2 separate regions of the Homo sapiens genome follow, and region 1 is linked to region 2. The links are contacts of gene promoters, found by promoter capture Hi-C in blood cells and fetal thymus (Javierre and others, 2016). All regions are on one chromosome and are shown on one strand. The core of a region is centred on a gene start or on the middle of the fragment in contact, and the rest is flanking DNA. Distances in the headings are between cores, read along the strand shown.

Region 1 (3,356 bases), core at 14-2,513, 310 kb before region 2:
TGTGCCTCCAAACCCGGCTAATTTTTATTTATTTTTTGTAGACATGGAGGGTCTTGCTATGTTGCCAAGGCTGGTCCTGAACTACTGGCCTCAAATGATCCTCCCGGTCTAAAGTCCTAGGATTATAGGTGTGAGCTGCCACACCCAACCTTCAGGTATTCCTTTGTAACAACACAAAACAGACTAACACACAAGGGTAAATACAGCAGAGTGAAAAGAAACCAGGTTTGAGAAGGTTAAGAAAGAAGAGAAGTGTAAGAAAGTAAGTCAACACATAGACTTGAAATATGGCTAACTGGAAACTATAAGAGAGAATCAAGTGGAGCAAAAAAGATAGAGTTAACTTCACCGACACAATAATAAGGCTGAATGAAATGATAGACGCCACTTAACAGTGAAATGTCATCTTCAAAGGGCCTAAAAAAGAAGAAAACAGCTGACCTAGAATTCTCTATCCTGCAAAAGTAGCTCACAAAGTGAAAGTGAAAGAAAAACATTTTCAGACAAAGAAAAACTGAGTGGATCCATCACTACTAGGTGCTCACTAAAGGAAAAACTAAATTGAGTTCTTGAAGGAGAAAATGCATGATCTCAGATGGAGGAACAGACGTAGGAAGGAAAGAAAAACAAAAAGGGTAAAATGTGGGTAAATCTACATAAGGAGTAACTGTTTAAAAAAACAAATATACACACACACAGAATTTTAAACTCTGATAATAATAACACCCAAAGGCAGGAATGGAAAAGGAATGAATTTAAGGTGTGCCAAGGTCACTGCATCTTCTAGAGAAACAGTAAAAGTGTTATTTGTAATTTTCTTTTTTTTTTTTTTTTGAGACGGAGTCTCGCTCTTTCGCCCAGGCTGGAGTGCACTGGTACAGTCTCTGCTCACTGCAAGCTCCGCCTCCTGGGTTCACACCATTCTCCTGCCTCAGCCTCCCGAGCAGCTGGGACTACAGGCGCCTGCCACCGAGCCTGGCTAATTTTTTGTATTTTTAGTAGAGACTATGTTGCCTAGGCTGCTCTTGAACTCTCAGGCTCAATCCTTCCGCCTTAGCCTCTCAAAGTGCTGGGATTACATGTGTGAGCCATCACGCCCAAGTTGATTTTTTAGTAACAGCTATTCTGACTGGTGTGAGATGGTATCTCACTGTGGTTTTGATTTCTATTTCTCTGATAATTAGTGACGATGAGTGGTTTTTCATGTGTGTTGGCTGCTTATAGGTCTTATTTTGAGATATGTCTGTTCATGTCCTTTGCCCTTTTTTTTTTCTTTTTTTAAACAGTGTCTTGCTCTGTCGCCCAGGCTGGAGTGCAGTGGCATGATCTTGGCTCATTGTAATCTCCGCCTCCCCAGTTCCAATGATTTTCGTGCCTCAACCTCTTAAGTAGCTAGTATTATAGGTGTGTGCCACCACGCCCTAATTTTTTTTTTTTTTTTGTATTTTTAGTAGACATGGGGTTTCACTATGTCAGCCAGGCTGATCTCAAACTCCTGGCCTCAAGTGATCTGCCTGACTCTGCCTCCCAAAGTGCTGGGATTACTGGTGTAAGCCACCATGCCCAGCCCTTTGCTCATTTTTTAATGGGGTTGTTTTTTGCTGTTAAGTTCCTTATAAATTCTGGATATGAGATCTTTGTTGGATGTATAGTTTGTGACTATTTTCTCCCATTCTTTAGGTTGTCTGTTTATTGGTGGATTCTTTTGCTGCGTGGAAGCTCTGTAGTTTAATTAGGTCCCACTTGTCAATTTTTGGCTTTGTTGCAATTGTTTTCGGAGACTTAGCCAAAAATTCTTTGCCGGGGCCAATGTCGAGAGGATATTTCCTAGGTTTTCTTCTAGGATTTTTATAGTTTGAGGTATTACATTTAAATCTTTATTCCACCTTGAGTAAATTTTTGTATATTGTGATGAGGGTCCAGTGGTGACACATGCCTGTAGTCCCAGCTACCTGAGAGGCTGAGGTGGCTTGAACTCAAGAAGTTGAGGCTGTAGTGAGCCATCATTGCACCACTGCACGGGTGCCTGTGCAATAATCCTGTCTCACAAAAAAAATAAAAAGAAAAAAAAAAGTTAAAAAGAAAAAAAGACTTTTTCAGACAAACAGAACAAGAAACTAAAACATAACATCAAATAGGTGACTAACAGGTTTCTTCAAAATAATACAGGAGTGAGGGAAGTGAGTAGACAAAATAAGGCTAGACATGAATTGATAGCTGTTTTAACTAACAATAGATACAAGGGCTTTGTTATATTATTGTTTACTTTTATTTATGTTTCAAAGTTTTGGCTGGGCATGGTGGCTCATGCCTGTAATCCTAACACTTAGAGAGGCTGATTTGGGAGAACTGCTTGAGGCCAGGAGTTCGGGACTAGCTTGGGCAACATAGTGAGACTCTGTCTCTACAAAATAGAAAATGAAAAAATTAGCTGGGTGTGGTGGCACAGGGCTATAGTCCTAGCTACTCGGGAGGCTAAGGTGGGAAGATAACTTGAGCCCAGGAGTTTAAGGTTGCAGTGAGCCATAATCACACCACTGCACTCCAGCCTGGGCAACACAGCAAGACCCCAACTCAAAAAAAAAAAAAAAAAGAATGATACGGGAAAGAGAGGAGGCAGTGTGAACTAAATCTTTCATGTCCAGAAATACACAAAAATAAAAAATTGAAAAACAGAAATATAAATATTATGGACATAACTAGAAATGGTTTAAAAGGTTGCCAAGAAGCCAAACTGGGAGTGGAAGGTGGGAGACATGATTATCTTTTTCACTATAAGCTTTTTTCAAAAAACTGATTATTATTTTAATCAAATCATTTTAATTATTTGTTTTGTTTTAAAAACTGATAAAATACTTAATAGTCAAAAAAACAATGACAGTTAATATGTTTAATCATTTATTGTCTAAATAAGCAATTCAGGCACAAAACGGAAGGGTCTACTATATATTTTAAACAATACTACCAAGTATTTTAAACAGTATCCTTAAATACATTGTAATTTTCAGATTAAGCTATTTTAAAATGAAAATAAGTTATCCCACTAAATTATTTCCTAGTTTAAATTAGTAATTTAATTACTAAATTAAATCAGAATAAAACTCTGGAATCATTACAAATCATTTTTGCATTTCACCATTATGATCTAAAGTCTAAGCAGGTCAATATGTCATACTTTTAAACTCCTGAGCCTTATTAAAAAGCTAATGATATAATGTACAATAAGACAAATTATCTTACCTCTTTTTCTTCACCAACTTGATCCAAACTCTCATGACTTGAAGGATTATATGGAATTACTAAAAACCCAATACCAAACATTAAAAAAAAAAAAAAAAAAGGTGCAGGAGAAAAAA
Region 2 (3,673 bases), core at 817-3,316:
ACAGAAAAATAAATGTCACTTAATTTTGCAGTATGCCCAGTAGATTTTAATAATCAATCCTCAAATAATAGAAAGTAAACAGCTATACTCTACATAACTCCCAACCTAATAGTTTACTGAATAGAGGGTTGTTAATCTTTCTTCAGCATATCAAAGAGTAGTTAACAAAAAATAAAATAACAATCCAATCTAAATCCTTCATCCTGGGTAAGGAGTAGAATAGAAGGGAGGGGCTGCGTGCCAAACACTTTTAATAACTTTTAATAAATAAGTTGACTCACCTATTATTTTCACAGCAATCTTAAAGTTTTTCTTTTTTCTTGCTTTTTTTTTTTTTGAGGTAAATATGTTTTCTTACCGATGCAGACAGGGAGGTAAAAATTAACTTGCTCAAAGTTACTCAGCCAATAATTGGTGGAGGTGGGGTACAAACAGGCAGTTTGGCTCAAGTTTTAGCTCTCTGCCACTGTCACATTACTCCACAGCCTCTGTTTAATATAAGATCACAACTAAATAAGAGCAGCTATTCAAAAGGTGAATTATATAGCCCTTACAACAATATTAAAGAGCAACTGGAATTGTAAAACAATGTGTATTGAAGGGCATAAAATTGTACTGTCAAGTGTAAATCTAAGGAGTTCTGTAAGTACAAATCTGACAGACAATTTCAATATACAATCTAATAAAATACTGTATACCCACGTCAGAGGAATAACACTAACTCTTGAAAGATTAAGAACAGTATAATTAGAAACTTCTACTGATCTTAAGACCTAGTCTTATCTGTCTGAACTCGAAATCTGCCTCTTTCTAATTCCCTTCTGCACCCTGTTCGGAACTACTTTATTTCTGCCAAATTCCAAAATTCCAAATTTACTGATCATGTGTGTCTTTTTCACAGCACTTAAAAAGTTTACAGAAGAATTTTAACTTGCATAGCTCAAAACATCTGTATTGTACGCCAATAAATCGATAAACTTAAAAAAAAAAAGAAGGGATAAAATGGAAGAAAGAAAAAATCATTCTAAGCAATGAAATAGTAAGGAACAGAAAGGCAATGATGAATGTAACAATTTATGATTATAGTAACAATTTACTACATGTGATCAATTTGAGGGCTTATGAAGGTTTCTCAGCACATCAGCTGATGAGACGACTAATAAATATCCTGAGTCCAAGATGTTCTACATAATTAATCCTCTTGGCAAAGAACAAGAACCAGGGAAAATCGCAAGGAAGAAATGCACAAATGACACGCATGTGGAATTAGGGGGAGATGTTATGTACGTTACTACGAGGATGACACACTGGCATGTGAAAGGTTTCTGGGCTCCACCAGCTCGTTGCAGCACCAACGAGGTTGTGGTTGTTTACACCACGTCGCCCGGAAAAAAGCCGGCAAGCTTCAAGTGGACTATTAAGTTAATAATATTGAAGGGAAAGAAGGGCAACGCAACTGAACATCTGGATGAGCAGATCCCTGCCTAGGCCCCGAGGCAGCTGACCAAGTCCAGATCATTCCCCCTTACGGTCTATGCGCACAAAGAACCAGCTGCTTTAGGTCAGTCCGCCGCCTCCTGCTACCCCTATTACCGTGGCCTTAATTTCAGGCCAGCTAAGGCCAGAGGATGGGGTGAAGGGAGGGGAGGAGCCCCGGGAAGGGTCAGCGTCTGCGCCCCAGGGGAGGCTGACCTTCCAGCTCAGGCCCGGGACAGCGCGACCACAGGAACTCCAGGCCCACAGCCGCGCCTCCGCAGCCGGATTCTGAGCGCGGCGCCTCCTTCCTTCCCCTGCTGCTCCACCACCACCTCCGTCTCTGTCTCCGCCGTCGCCAACACCGCCCCCCCTCAGGCCCCTCACAACGCGCAGCCTGCAGCCAGCTGCCTCGCGGCGGAACCCCACCCCACCCCACCCCACCTCGCCCTTGCTTTCGCTCGCCCTTTTAGGGGGCTTTCCCCGCCCCTTCCACTATCCAGCGCGCCGAAGCCCCCTGCCCAGAGCTCGGCTTTGCTACCTGGATCCGCTTCTTGTGTCTCCTGCGTTCCGCCATGTTGGCCGCTCCGCCCGGTTCCCTCTGACGTGGAGCGAGGAGGGGGCGGTGGAAACCTCGCGAGAACGCGCCCCGAGGCCCGTTATGTAATCCGCCGGCTGGCGCCCCTGGAATGGGGAGGTCGGCCGCCTGGCGGGGCCAGCGGTCCTTAGCGGTGCCTTCTCTCCCCTCTTCCCTCCGCTCCTGCTGTGCGGGAACTGGAGAATCGTTAGGACGTGGAGGAAGCAGAGAAGTGGATCAGAGAACAGGAGGGCTGGGAAGAGTCCTGGTTTCTCAATCCTGACTGAGCATCTGAATCACCTGAGAAGCTACTAAAATGCAGATTCCCCGACCCCATCCCCTTAGAGTCAGAGTCTGTGCATTTAGGGTGCGGCCTTTCTCAGAGGGATCGACTGAGACCTACTGAACCCTAGAAGTCTTTACCTGAGGCAGTTCCTGCAATGTACTGTATATTTCATGACATTCCATGTAAAAGATGACAAGACCGAGACCGTTGAGTGACAGAGATAAGAACTGACTTATCTAAGGCTCCACAGGTGGTAGATGGCAGAGCCGAGACCTGAGCCAATTATCTTTTCTCCTGCACTGTGCGGGGTAATACAGCTCGTTTAAAACAAGCTGGAGTCTCCATTCCGTTTTCCGCGTTGCTTCTCACAACTCACTGTTAGAATCCAGAAGTAAGAGAACCCGGGGAAGCGTAAGGAAGATGAATAGGACAAAGATTCTAAGAAGGTGGGAAGGAAGAAGGCTGCAGTCTATTTCAAGTCTGGTGAATTTCAATCACTGTAGCCTTTATTGTTATTTTAGAGCCACCTAGACCAAAAGAGAAGGAGCTCAAATTGCTGGTAAGTGCTTAGATAGAAATTCCCTTGACTGACTTTATAGAGATCTTTAAAGCGTTTTTAATTGTAGAAAATTGGGAAAATTCAGAATAGAAAGATGTTCTTTTTTTTTTGATGCTGAGTTTCGCTCTATATTGCCCAAGCTGGAGTGCAGTGGCGCAGTCTCGGCTCACTGCATCACCGAACTCCTCGTCTCAACTGATCTCCCTCCTCAGCCTCCTGAGTAGCTGGAACTACAGGCATGAGCCACCACACCTGGCTAATTTTTACTTTTTTTGTGTGGAGATGGAGTTTCCTTATGTTGCCCGGGCGGGTCTTGAACTCCTGGGCTCAAAACGATCCACCTGTCTCTGTCTCCTGAGTAACTGGAACTACAGGCGTGAGCCACTGTGACCGTTCAGTTTATTTTCTTATAGTATTCTGACTTTGTGTGTGTGTGTGCATGTGTGTTTGTATTTATATTTTTTCCTGTTTCCCAAATTGAGATCATATGCAATAAGGCAGCTGCTTTTTTCACTTAATGTTAGGTTGTAAGCGTTTATTATACCATTAAAATTTTTTTCCAGGTTTCCCATATTATATATCTAACCTAAGAGCAATTAAATATGTAAGTAAGGCAAATTGCAGCATCTTGATGCCTAATTTTTTAATAAAGTAAGATTGCTGAATTTTTTTTTTTTTTTTGGACTATGCAGTTCTGGTCTCAGGAGTCATTTAATTCCTTTCTCCTCTATAATCTATAATTTGGGTGTGTGTATAGTCAGGGATGGGGTGAGAAAGA

What was found. Contacts are between HindIII fragments. The CHiCAGO score rates a contact against its expected background, and 5 or more counts as called.
Region 1: a fragment that was not itself captured here is called in contact with the fragment with the promoter of SEC62 in region 2 in 1 of 17 cell types (fetal thymus); the score reaches 5.5 in fetal thymus.

What each region holds. Positions count from the first base shown.
Region 1 is chr3:170,275,172-170,278,527 of GRCh38, reverse strand. PRKCI (protein kinase C iota) reads right to left here. Exons shown (of 18, transcript NM_002740.6): 8 at 3,241-3,299. Among named protein-coding and RNA genes, the nearest start is that of PRKCI, 54 kb to the right of the region's middle. The HindIII fragment of the contact is 3,036 bases long and covers 1-2,781 here.
Region 2 is chr3:169,965,200-169,968,872 of GRCh38, reverse strand. It overlaps SEC62 (SEC62 preprotein translocation factor), which reads right to left and starts at 2,066. Exons shown (of 8, transcript NM_003262.4): 1 at 2,015-2,066. The coding sequence starts at 2,050. It also overlaps the pseudogene FHL1P1. RefSeq lists enhancers at 1-391, 1,948-2,387. The HindIII fragment of the contact is 8,040 bases long and covers 1,406-3,673 here.